2 separate regions of the Homo sapiens genome follow, and region 1 is linked to region 2. Evidence: promoter capture Hi-C in human tissues and cell types (Jung and others, 2019). All regions are on one chromosome and are shown on one strand. Each heading gives the region's core, a stretch centred on a gene start or on the middle of the fragment in contact. The rest is flanking DNA. Distances are from core to core; before and after follow the strand shown. Region 1 overlaps RNF150 (ring finger protein 150). Region 2 holds the start of TBC1D9 (TBC1 domain family member 9).

The links. The method cuts DNA at HindIII sites, captures the fragments that hold promoters and counts their contacts. A contact is called where the count stands out against the background at its distance.
Region 1: a fragment that was not itself captured here is called in contact with the fragment with the promoter of TBC1D9 in region 2 in 1 of the 25 tissues and cell types used here (liver).

Annotation. Positions count from the first base shown.
Region 1 is chr4:140,892,606-140,899,522 of GRCh38, reverse strand. The region is part of intron 6 of RNF150 (ring finger protein 150); the gene reads left to right. Among named protein-coding and RNA genes, the nearest start is that of TBC1D9, 140 kb to the right of the region's middle. The HindIII fragment of the contact is 5,598 bases long and covers 15-5,612 here.
Region 2 is chr4:140,751,901-140,758,663 of GRCh38, reverse strand. TBC1D9 (TBC1 domain family member 9) reads left to right here and starts at 2,279. Exons shown (of 21, transcript NM_015130.3): 1 at 2,279-2,748. The coding sequence starts at 2,619. RefSeq lists enhancers at 1,757-1,806, 1,297-1,938, 1,939-2,581 and a silencer at 2,237-2,926. The HindIII fragment of the contact is 15,545 bases long and covers 212-6,763 here.

The sequences.
Region 1 (6,917 bases), core at 1,564-4,063, 140 kb before region 2:
TGGCTCATCACCCAGAATGACTGGATAGAGTTAGATGTAGAATTAGATGTCTAGGAATTTCCAGGATTATTCTAGGCAGAGGTATCAAACTGGTGCCACCTGTGACTCTGCCTGCCTACAAATGAAATGTGTTTGGTCTTCAGAATGCTTCTGATAAAGTTCAGTTAGGAGCCCACATTTAAATATGGCAAGGTTTTACATAGAAACCTGAATTTTCAATTTGGAAAATCTGGAAGCTGCAGCAATCCTGGGCCACATTTCCTTATGGTGACACTTGGTTCAGCCCTTTTGAGGCAAAGCACGTCCTCTGCAGTTCACTGCAGCCTTGCAATCCCAAATTTATGGACAGTTTCAGGGCAGCAGTACTTCTTTCACACACAGTGCTAAGATCAATGTTTTGAATGTTCCTATTAGATCTCATTTAAAAAAAAACCATTAGTAAAATCATACAGGGAAACAATACGTGTGCCTATGAGCCAACAACATGCACAGTTAACACACTGTCTCGTATCTAATGTTCGCAGCAGGGAGGAACAATTAGTAGATTTATAGACCAGAGTTCCATCAAAATTTTTTTGTCAAACAAATCACTCATTTCTATAAATTAAGACTTATGCCTTAATCAGGGCTGTCAGCACAAGAAAGTATTGGCTGCACTTACACTCCTGCTGTGCAACAAGAACAGTGGAATGAATTTTTAAAAGAAAAATAATCCCATAATAGTACTGCCACTGTTATTTAAATAGGAGTTAGAAAATAGGACTTAGAAATCAAAGTTTAAGCATGAACTCAATGGGTTAAAAAGCATATCTTCCTTGTTAAAAAACTGAGATAAAAATATATGTAGTTGGATACATAAATACTTGCATACACAAGCACATACATGCATGCATATGTGGAAGTATGTGTGCCTGTGCACATCTGTATACCAAGTGTGCCCATGCACCTATGTAGGAACATAAACCTATAACATGTTCATATATGCATATCATATGTGTCAGACATTTGTACCTAAAGCAGTACTTCGACATGCATGCACATCTGTGCTTTTATCTAGCATAAATGCATGACTGCACGCATACATACATGTTACTCAGTACCATCAACTTTATGTAATAGTAGTTAGCCATGTCTCAGCAGGGATGATTGAAATTTCTCATCATGGGTCTCCTGATTACTCCTAGAAATGAAACTGTAGTTGCAGCTTACCTCATAAGAGAAAGAACAACTCAAAAAAAAAAAATGTGTGCATCATTTTTTTTGTTAAGTGAACCTAAGGCTCTCTAATATCTGGAAAAATTAAATATGCCCCTACAAGTAAGGCAGTTCCTAATTTTAGGAATAGTATATCCCTAGCATCCAAGCCCTATGATAGAACAACACCTTTGGGGCCAGGTAAAATTGTATGTGTCCATCCATACTGAGTGGTAGTAGGTCTCTTCATCTGGTGGGGCATCAAGGAACATGATCAGATAGTAAAGGCACTGTAAGTAAACTGTAGGTCTTTGTTAGACAGCAGAGAGAGGTATTGAAATTTCCCATCCCTAATTTATGTCCCTGACAATAATGTACGTTCTTGGTAGTAAAGCTAGGTCAAGGCCCAACCCTGCCACCTGCTATCTGTGTAACTTTGGACAAATAGCTCAACCTCTCTGTACCTCTAGTTCTCATCTGTAAAATGGAGGTAATTTAGAGAATACCTACCTCTGGGATTAAATGTAATGCAATAATCCTTAGAAAAGTACCTGGTCCATAATAAGCATTCAAAAAAAATGTTACTGTATAGAAGAGAAGGTGAAGGGGCTCAAACACTAGTAAACTTTGTGCCAAGAATCTTAGAGAGCTTTACATATTTTATTTAACCTTTACAATTATCACTCTTTTATATCTAAGAAACTGAATTAGAGAGCAGTCTAGGAACCATGTCAGAGGTCACACATGGAGTAAATGGCAGGGCTGGAGGGAAAACTCTTGTCACTCTCATCAAAGCCCAGATTCTTTCTCCAGTTTCTCAAACCAGTTTCTAGCTATGGTCTGAACACCCACCTGGGCTGTAGTTGGAGTGCAGATCCATAGGCCCCTCCCCAGATCTACTCAATCACAGTTTCTAGGGGTAGGCAGAGAATTGTCACTTCTATCAGGCTTCCTGAGCAATTCGTTCTAAAGCCAGAGTTTCAAAACGTATGCCCAGCAACCCCAGAGTGCCTGCCCGAGGAAAACAGAACCCAAGACAATGCACACATTCTAAGTGGTATCTTATCCCTGCAGCGTCTTGAAATTTTCTCATATTAATTGTATGCAGGGGTACTGGAGGTAGAACATTCTCTTCAGTCAAACTAACTTTACCTATTTCTTGTTTACTCTGCCTTGAGAATCTCCCCACTGAACACATAAGTGCAATTGTGTGTGCTTGATCCTTGGAGGATCCTTCTTAAGAGACCTGTGCTGTGTGTTGATACATGCAATAAAGATGACCACTGGATCCTTACAGCCCTGGTCCAAATCCCAAAATACAATGATAGAAAATACAAGTAGGTTTTTACTTAGTCATGCCTTACTTGTGATCTTGATGGAGGTTTAATCCTAGCAGCCAACATTGCTATCTGGGGAAGTCTGCTGCCTTTTGATTATTATAATAATGGCTTCTTTGCTCATGAAACATCCCCGACCTGATGTGTGACCTACACACGGTGGTGCAGGCATTCTCTTACATTTTTAGCATAAGCCGTAATTCTAGAATCATCTACTAGAAAAAGGAAGTGCTTCCTTTCTTTTTTAAAGAAAAAAAATTATTTTTTTTTGTTTGTTTGTTTGTTTTTTTGTTTTTTTTTTTTTATTATACTCTAAGTTTTAGGGTACATGTGCACATTGTGCAGGTTAGTTACATATGTATACATGTGCCATGCTGGTGCGCTGCACCCACTAATGTGTCATCTAGCATTAGGTATATCTCCCAATGCTATCCCTCCCCCCTCCCCCGACCCCACCACAGTCCCCAGAGTGTGATATTCCCCTTCCTGTGTCCATGTGATCTCATTGTTCAATTCCCACCTATGAGTGAGAATATGCGGTGTTTGGTTTTTTGTTCTTGCGATAGTTTACTGAGAATGATGGTTTCCAATTTCATCCATGTCCCTACAAAGGATATGAACTCATCATTTTTTATGGCTGCATAGTATTCCATGGTGTATATGTGCCACATTTTCTTAATCCAGTCTATCATTGTTGGACATTTGGGTTGGTTCCAAGTCTTTGCTATTGTGAATAGTGCCGCAATAAACATACGTGTGCATGTGTCTTTATAGCAGCATGATTTATAGTCCTTTGGGTATATACCCAGTAATGGGATGGCTGGGTCAAATGGTATTTCTAGTTCTAGATCCCTGAGGAATCGCCACACTGACTTCCACAATGGTTGAACTAGTTTACAGTCCCACCAACAGTGTAAAAGTGTTCCTGTTTCTCCACATCCTCTCCAGCACCTGTTGTTTCCTGACTTTTTAATGATTGCCATTCTAACTGGTGTGAGATGATATCTCATAGTGGTTTTGATTTGCATTTCTCTGATGGCCAGTGATGATGAGCATTTCTTCATGTGTTTTTTGGCTGCATAAATGTCTTCTTTTGAGAAGTGTCTGTTCATGTCCTTCGCAGAAAAAAAATTCTTTAAAAATCTTAGATACTGAAATAAGTCCTTGAATGAGCAGATCAAAAGATAAGTTTTGAAAGAATTACCATTGGTTTTCTCAGATGCATAATTTTACTGAGGGAAGAATTCTTTGGTGTCATAAAATTAACTACCATAAGAAAAAGGATAAGACAACAAGGCTACATTTCATAGTTTCTTTGGGTGCATTGCAGCTAAGATCTGCAACACAGAACTAAGAGTTGGTAACTGCTAAGCAGAATGATCTGCCACCAAAGTTAAGAGTATAGACAATGTGTTCTGGGAGCTGATAATTGGCAGGAGGTAATAATGGTAGGAACTCTATTTTTCTTTGTTTTTATTTTCCTATCTTGATGAACAATTACAGTTATGGAACATATGGAACCATAGCTTTGCTCTTATAATGTATATAGGCTAATTTCCTACAGAGACATATGTTTTTTGCTTCCAAGGCATATTGTGGGGACTTTGACTTACATTGATGCATAGCTATGCTTATAATATGCCCATTTTCTACTTCCAGGGCTGTCTCAGTGCCTAAATATTCAGCTTCCCCTTAGAGAAACCCTGTCTCTAAAAATATAACCATAAAATAGAAAAATATACTCACTTATGATGCTGGAATTCCCATCAAAGCTTTGAAGGAAAAATGTTCAAACAGTCTCAGAAATCCCAATTAGCCCTCATGCTACCTGTGCCCCCTGACCCTCTCCAGGAGATTTTCTCTTAAAGGGAGTGGGAGAAAACCAAAGGGGACCTGGGACTTAGTCTCTAGTGGGTTAATGAACAGGATCCACAAAGGTAATGTTCTCAAGGACCCTCACTTCTTTTTGCCAGGCTTGCAGATTCCTGGGGCAAGAAAGAGTCTGCTCTCCCTGAGAGTTCCCTGAATTGAAGATGCTCCCTTGGTATCCATGGAGACTCAGGCAGCTCAGCCCCAGATGAGCAAGTTATTTGTGACTTCGAGATTTATGGATTTGTTCACTCTGCACCATACTTACATTATTGACAAGGCATCTACGTTACAGGAAACTGCCGACATAGTCTCAGGCAGCTTTCTTCATGGCAAAATAATATAAAATATTTGCAGGCCGGACAAAAATAAACATTGAAGATCTATTCAGCAGTACCTACTATTTAGGACATGGGCCATGTTTGTGGCTGCAGATTTTTTAAGAATACAAGTTCAAAATGTGCATTGATTGTTTGCTACTGGGAAGCACTGGCAAAATGTTAAACAAAGCATGCACCAATCAAAGGAGGGGACCCAGGATCTCTATCATGGACAAATATTTAGGGTTATTTGTCTTAAATATTTATGGAGTTTAAAAAGTGGGGGATGGGGCTCACTATAAACATCAGTAATCATCCCAAAAAGCAGCAGCATGATCCTTTAAAAAGAAAGAAAAATTCAGAAACTACGTGAGCCACATGTTAAAATGACTTTCTGTTGTGGAAAGGTCACAGAATATATTAACAATAACTAGGGAGAGAAAACATCATAAAACACTCTGAAGATACCTAGAAGACCTCATCAGAAGTTAATCTGGAAGTCTTTCATTAATTAAACACAGCTATTTTACCAAAAGATGTTGGTGATTTAGCATAAGATTTATTAATGCCTATTTTGAGCTAGGATGACATTGCCCCTCCTCTGAAGGAATTTAGGTTTGAACAGATGTAAAACAGATGTGTACAAAATAGCAGTTACTTTGCCAAGTGCTGTTTCTTAAGAACAGATCTCATTTGCCAGATCTACTAAAAGCTTTGTCTACATAAGGGATTTGCATAGCTTTCCTGAGTTTAGAAAGAGACAGAGAAAGGAACCATCACTCTTCAGCTTGTGGAGGAAATACTAAAACCTTAACCCCCATGTTAAATTCCAGGAACTCCCTATGGACTTGTTTAGGGAATTTGGCCTTTTGTACATATATTGGAGAATATTAGGATGAAATGCCTCTGTCTTAGATTTTGCATTCCTAATACTAGAAAATTGCTAGTTTTTCAGTTTTAAAATTTTAAGAATTTTCCTAATTCTGTGTTTATTGTGTACATGTTTAGTCACTCATGATAATCCAACTCTAAACGATACCTTTTCAGTTCTTCTCAATTCTTCATTTTTAAGCTTCACAAGCCCCCGCCAGAACAACTGGCTTATTCACACCCCCACCACTGCCAGCTTCAGGAACCATTCCACACAGGTGGCCCCTCTTCTTAGGGAGGTGCTGAGCATGGTTCTAAAAGAGAAACAAGGAAACAGAAAATGATCTTAAAAGGTACCTAATAAGGTGGAGTTGGAAAGAGCAGGAATGAGATTCCTGTCCCATAATAAATGAAACACTTGAGCTCGCTGCTCAGTCTAGGTCTTGTTTCTCTTAGCCTACTCTGTGGTTTTGCCTTGATTCCTTAGCATGATGTATTCCACATAGCATTGATATCAAAAGAGCATAAGTCCCCTTCCCCAGTGTTTTATCCTTTCAAAAAATCAACATGATATCTTCAGATTTTCCCATTTATTTATTCAGTACATTCAAGTGATAACTTTTGCATTTCTTTTATTTCTATAGCATTAGAGATGCAGTCTTGCAAAATAAGCCCCTGACCCCTGAGAAATTACAGTCTGCTCTAGTTAGGAGAAAAAACATCCATGGGTGGAATATTTAAATAATGAAATAAGGCAGTGGTGTTAATCACATGCCTGGAATATTGTGAATAAAAGTGTTCTTTGGAGAAAGGCCGGGGGGTGGTCATGGTGGCAACACTACCCTCAGACCTTTTTTTTTCTTTTAAGAGATGGATCTCACTCCATCTCCCAGGCTGGATTGCAATGGTGCAATCATGGCTCACTGCAGCCTCAATCTTTTGGCTCAAGCAATCCTCTTACCTCAAGCTCCTGAGTAGCTGGGACTACAGGTACACACCACCACACTCAGCTAATCTTTTAGCTTATTTTTTTTTTAAGAGATGGGGTCTCACTATGTTGCCCAGGCTGGTCCCAAACTCCTGGCCTCAAGCGATCCTCCTGCTTGGGCCTCCCAAGTGCTGGGATTACAGGCATGAGCCACACTACACCAGCCTCCACAGACCTTTTACTCTAGGGTACAGTTTGGCTACATCCCTCCCCAGGGGGAAGGAACTTGTGAGGCCAAGAAGTCGCCGACATCCCTCCCCAGGGGGAAGGAGCCTGCGAAGCCAAGAAGTCACCCAGACTCCCTAACCCACTTTCTGGAGACAGAGTTAGCAGGATACA
Region 2 (6,763 bases), core at 1,030-3,529:
GGGGTCTCTCTGGTTTAATACAGATGGGGTCCTCCTGGCTCTGCCTACCAAAATGCTGGGGTTGCAGGCATGAGCCACCATGCCCAGCCTGTTTATTTTTTTGAGAGAGTCTCGCTCTGTCCATTTTTGTGCTTAGGTTCAATGAAGAGTGGGCAGCCATGTAGATGTGGTTGGACAAAAGGGTAAGATCCAATGGTAATAGACTGAGAACAGACCCAGTCTGTCTGTTCAGATTCTTCTTGGCCTCTCCGTATAGCTTTCCCTCCTCCTGGGTTTAGAGCAGGACTCCTTTGGAAAGGGGACCTACTATCCAACAAGGTAGGGTAGATAATTTCTTTATTTCTCTATTCTTTATGTCTGCTCTTACACAGAAGAGTGAGGAATGGTAATATTTCTAGGTTTTGTAGCTTCCTTTGGGAAGAGGGGTTTTAGTTTCTATGACCTGCCTTTAGTTTCCATGACTCACTTTGGGGGAGAAAGAGAGGTGGGAGACAGGAGGGCAGAAGGAGGTCAGAGAGAAACTGCTTCTGAGGCCTTTCAATCTCCTTTAGTTCAAAGTACTCAGCATGCCAAAGCACCATGCTTTGTGGTATCATTTTCCAAACCCCAACATGGTATTAAGGCACTTAGAGTTTTTAAAAATACCAATTATATCAAGTAAAAGAATACCTATGGAAACACTTCAAAAATATAAAAGTTACATGATATATTAATATAATTTTTGCATATGTATGACTTATAATCTTATTGTTTGCTTTTTATTTGCAGATTTTGTGACTGAAGGCACTGCACTGTGACCAAAAGTGCCAAATGAGTTTTTTGAGTCTGTGTTAAATACATGAGGTTTCCACTGATGCCTGGAAGAAGCAGATCAGTCTGTGTGGTAACATCAAGGGAAACTTCCATTCCTTGAGAGCCCAAGCGGTAGGAAGCGAACAGATGAAATGGCAGTCTCATTAGAATGGCTGGTGATTTGCTCATTCGACTAATTGAAGGAATTCAACAATTCAAGTCGGAGCTACAAAAGTCACAATTTTGAAGCCCACACAAGAAGGTTTCATTTGAATCTCTGCTCATTTGGAAAGGGAAAAGTCCCTAGGATTGCCCAGCATCCACAACAAAGCAGAGTCTGCTAAATTCCCATCATTTGGGAAGAGGAACTTTTTTTTTTTTTTTTTTTTTTTTTTTTTTGGCTGAACTATCCTCCAGATCTCCTGGGCGGGAGGAAAAAAAAATGGTCATCAGATATGTAGGCAGATGGGCTGTGATCACCACTGGAAGCTCGAAGTATTTGGGGAAACTGAAACTGTCTAGGGATAAAGCTGCCCTGGTTTGTGTGTTTCTGGTTTCACTGATTAAAAAAAAAATCCATCTACCAAGAGTGGATAAATTTTAAAATTCTGCCATGCCCAGTTTTCGAAGCCCCAAATGCGATATAGGAACAGCTGTGGTGTGAATTAGTTGGTCTAAGCTTTTGGGCCGCTTCCAACTTCTCTATTGCTCACGCCCTACAGGTCAAGGAAAGAAGTGATGTAATGCACTTAGCTAGGCCACTTTAATTACAATGGAATGGAGAGGGGGGAGGGGTCACAAGCGGTGACAAGTTTAGCGCATGACTTGCCCTGGGGATGCAGGAAACAAAAACATCGACGACCATTGGCTGCGTTGGCTTCCGACCCCGGGTCTCTAACCGAGCTCCAGGTCTGGAACCTTGAAACACTTTTCCTGGGAAAAGGGGTGGCGCTATCCCATAGAGCGTCAACCTTAAACACAAACAGCACACACGCACCCACGCAGGCTGGCGGCGTCCTCCCTGCTGGGATGGGCGTCGGGCCCAGTGCTTGGCACACGGTCCCCAGGAGCTTCCCCCGAAGGTTCCCCCGAAGCCAGCCACAGCTGCTCAGCTCGGCGCGCGGAGCCCGCGGTGGTACCGAGTCCGCACAAACCCGGACCCGCTCCAAGTGAGCCGCGTTGTCGTCATTCATTCGCAGTGTCCGGAGCGTCCTTCCAGCGGGGAGCTGGGCTTCCCTAGTGGCGCCTGCGGCCCCGACACGGCGCGTTAAGGCGCGGCGACTTCGGGAGCTCGAGCAGGTAGAGACGGGAGGGGCTCTGGAGCTCCAGTCGGCGCCGCGGGAGCAGCAGCGCCGGAGCCCAGCTTGGCCCTGACCGCGGGGCCGAATCCGCTCGGGTGGCCCTTAGCCCTGCCTGGCGCTGAGCCGGATCCCGGGACTGAGCTATACCACTTCCTCCTCCTCCCGCTCCCTTCCTCCTCCTCTTCCTCCTCCTCCCGCTCCTCCCGCCGCCGTGGGCCGGGAGCCGGGCTGCAGAGTGCCAGGCCGGGCGTCTGCGGCCGCGGGCTCTCGCGGGGCGGCGACGCCGCGGGGAGGATGCTGCTTGCCGCGCCCGCGTCCTCACCGTCCTCCCGGGCCGCCTGCTGGGGCTTTGTTGTGGCCCGGACGCCGCGGGCCACCCCCTGAAGTCGCCTGCCGCCGCCGCCGCCGCACCTAGCGGACGGGCGGGCGGGCGCGCGTGTGCCCAGGAGTGCGCGCCTGTCGCGGTGGTGGGTGCAGGACTGGACCCACGGGCCCATTGTGCGCCCGCCCGCGGCAGCCAGGACCATGTGGGTGAACCCGGAGGAGGTGTTGCTGGCCAACGCGCTGTGGATCACCGAGAGGGCCAACCCATACTTCATCCTGCAGCGGAGGAAGGGCCACGCCGGCGATGGAGGCGGCGGCGGCGGACTGGCGGGTAAGGACCGTGGCCGATCCCTGCAGGAGGGGAGCCGGGAGCGCTGCGGCGCCGCCCGCGGCCTGGGCTGCAGGCTCGGGAGACGCCGCCCGGTCCCCTGGGGCTGGGCGACCCGCCCTGCCTCGTTGTATGCGAGGCATCGAGAGTCGTGATGTTCAGGTTGGGCAGAGATGCTTCTTTTTTTGACTCTGTCAGGCTTGGGGCCCTCAGCGTACTGAGCGCTCTTTAAGTGGATATGTTGAGGAGAATGGGAAAGAGTGAGTCTGGGGCGGAGGGAATGTATTATCCCCTATATATTGAATGCATCATTCCCTTCCCCTCCCCCCCTTAAAAATATTGTTTTCCAAATGGAAAAGAGGGATGGAAGAAGGTTAATTTTTGCTCCACTTTCTTTACTGGCAACAGCAGGATCAGGTATAAAATGCTCTTTTGTTTCCAGGGAAGCGATAAGTAAGGAACTGATGTGGTCATTTCCTATATGAGTTATGACCGAAGAGAATGAATACGGAAACAGGAATTTTTTTGTTTCACCTAATTAGACATAAAGCAAAGCAAATTGTCTGGTTCTAGTTGTAAAAATAATTGGCTGTATAACTGCATTTTAACTATTTTTGCTCAATCACTTCTTCCCTAAACCCCCTCCCTTCAAGGTATTATTGTAATTGTTGCTGAAGCCATGTCATATCATTCAGGATAATAAGATCAGTCAGACCCATATCCAAAGTAGTGCCATATTAGAAATAATCTCGAACTCATACCATACTAGAGAAATTGGACCTTCTCCATCTCTGTGTTATTTAGAATGAACAGAACTGGAATACTTTTTACAGTGAAAAAGTTAGCAGAAGAAATAGTAGAGGTTTCACTAGAAAGGAGACTGCAAAAAAGAGATGAACTTTGACCCTCCTCAGAGTTGAGCTTATATCAACCTCATATATCACCTGGAGTTTGCACAATAGGTAAATTGTTGCTTTCAAATGCTGTGCTATGAAATAAAGATTCTTGATATATGTATTTACTTATGATTATATTTATAAACTAATTTTCTTAAGATTAAAATTCAGGTGTCATGTGGTACAATGTATACTGGTATGTTTGAAGGATCTTGATTCTACCAGAAAAGATAAATCTGCAGAGCTCCAGACCCCATTCTGGAAATACTTACTAGTGATCTGATACCAGGATTTTCCAGGTCATTTTGTAGAAGTTATCTAACTCTAAATGTTAATATGTAATTTACATATCTAATATTGGAATCAGCCCACATTGTCCTTTTTTTTTTTTTTTTTTTTTTTTTTTTTGAGACAGAGTCCTGCTTTGTCGCCCAGGCTGGAGTGCAGTGGCGTGATCTCGGCTCACTGCAACCTCCTTCTCCTGGGTTCAAGTGATTCTCCTGCCTCAGCCTCCTGAGTAGCTGGGACTACAGGCATGCACCAACCCGCCCGGCTAATTTTTTTTGTATTTTTAATAGATGGGGTTTCACCATGTTGGCCAGGCTGGTCTTGAACTCCTGATCTCAAATAATCCGCCCACTTTGGCCTCCCGAAGTGCTGGGATTAAAGGCGTGAGCCACCTCACCCGGCCCATGTAGTCCTTTAAGCCTAGGACAACAACACAGAGTAGATAATTTATTGTAGTAAAAAGAGAACATTTCCTTCTGCAATTAACCCTCCTACACCTTGTAAGCATTAAGTATTCATTTACCTGTGTCATTTGTAATAGGATGTGAAAAATTCAGGGATTCAGAGCCTTCTTTTTCTGCTTAACATTTGTATTGTGTTCCTACTGGTTCTTAGAGCTATAACTGACTACGGTCCACTTGAAATCTCATCTTGTCATCAATGACTTCTTTCACTTAGGTAAAATTACATCTTGTAAATTGAGAAATCACAGTGATTGCACTTATTAATGGAATAATTGAAATCATTGTCATGAGTAAAAGTATTTATGACAACAAAGGCTATTTTCAAGCAAGAGAGGTAAAATGTTTGGTCTAATACCTTGGTGCCATGTCAAATGTAGCAGGAACATTTTAGAAATGTTACACAATGTGTAGTATATTCTGATTCTAATGTAAGTTCATTCATTCACTAACTCACTAAATCATTTAACAAATATTTGTTGGCAACTTCTAGAAGTGCTAATGTTGTGAAGCTCAAGCCTAGTAGAAGACAGGTATTGATGAAATAATCACATAAATTAAAGTAAAATTGCCACTCTACAGAGTCCCAGCAGAAAACAGAATCCAAATGAAGAGAGATGAGTGAAAAGACAACTTCGAAAAATAGAGGCATGGTTATTTGAACTGGTGTAAGGCAAACCAGAGGCAGGACTCTCAGGAGTCCGTGAGAGCTGGAGCCAGGGAAGAGGAACTTGAGCCTGGAGAGAAGCAGCTACTTGTAAAAACATAGACAATAGCAGAAAGGGAGTGGGGAGTACATGCCCTGACTTCTCTCTTCTCCCACCCTCCCAGCTTCTGCCACTGCCTCCCATCCCTGGAACCCAATAGAAGCCAGCTAAGGAACTGGGCATGGTGGTGTATGCCTGTAGTCCCAGCTGCTGGGGAGGCTGAGGCTGGAGGATGGTTTGAGCCTAGGCATTCAAATCCGGACTGGGCAACATGGTGAGACCTTATCGCTAGAAAAGGAAAAAAAAAAAAGAATCTAGCTGGAAAGAGTCCTGGTAATGTAGTTTCTTGGGATCAGCCTCCCAGGAATGGATGGGGGCAAACTGAGAATGATCAGAACAAATATCATAAGAAGAGGAACATGATGTTGGTTAGTCCCAGTTAAGTGATGGGGTCTTGGAGGTGGAGGCAAAGGAAAGATTCCTTGAGGAAGTGACGCTTGAGCTTAGAACTGAAGAAAGAAAAAGATCTGCCTGTGAGGAGAGGAGGGAAGAGTAAGTGTTAGATATCAGCTGTTGGAGATTTTCTGGAAGATCTCAGGACCTTTACATAATATGCATTATCTGGATCAGTGTACATGTGTACACCCAGCAAATAGATGACAGATGAGTAGGGAAACTTGCCCAGTGTGAACTGGCCAGAAGTGGTCTCAAAGTGTGGTCATCAGGGAGCTTGGAAAGATTAGCACAGAAAGCTATAAAAAACAGTGGGTCAAAGTTGAGGACACTTAACATTTTTTAAAAATTAAGATATTCTAGGTTCCTGATTCCAAGCAATATGTATAGGCATTGGTGCAATGAAGTCTTCCATTGTGGATGCATTTGATTGATTTATTTAACCCCCTTTGACTGAGATTTCATACATATACATAAAATTACAGAAATCAGATGCAAAGTGCAGTGATCTACTACAATGTGAACACTTGGCAACCAACACCAGGATAAAAAAAAATAGAACACCAGGATAAAAAATATAGAACACTGCTAATGTGCCAAAAGCCCCCTTGTGATTCTCAGCCAATCATTGTCACCTCCCCCAAAGATAAAGACTATCCTCATGCTTTTTTGTAAACACTTCCTTGATTTTCTTTGTAGTTTTTCCAAAGAACATATCCCTAAACACTATATTTTGGTTTTGCTTTTTTTTTTAAGCAAGAAATGAAATGGAATTATAGAGTATATATTCATTTGTGTCTGGATTCTTTTGCTCAGCCTTGTGTATGTGATATTCATTTTGTTGCTGTTGGTTGTAATTCATTCATTTTTCTGTTCTGTGTAGAAAACTATGATATGAGTATACCACAATTTATTCATCTCTTTATCAACTGTATTGTTGGTGGCCCATTGGATGGTTCATTTGGGGGCATTATGGATAATGTGGCTATGGTCATTTTGGGGCATGTTTCTTGGTGCCTGTGGGCATACGTTTCTATTTGCTCTATAAACAGGAGAGGAATTGCTAGCTCATAATGTATTATCAATTTCAGTAGATGATACCAGTTTTCCAAAGTAGTTGTACCAATATACTCCCACCAGCAGCATATGGAAGTTCCCCTTGTTCCATCACATATCCTTGTCAACACTGTCAGTCTTTGTAATTTTAGCCATT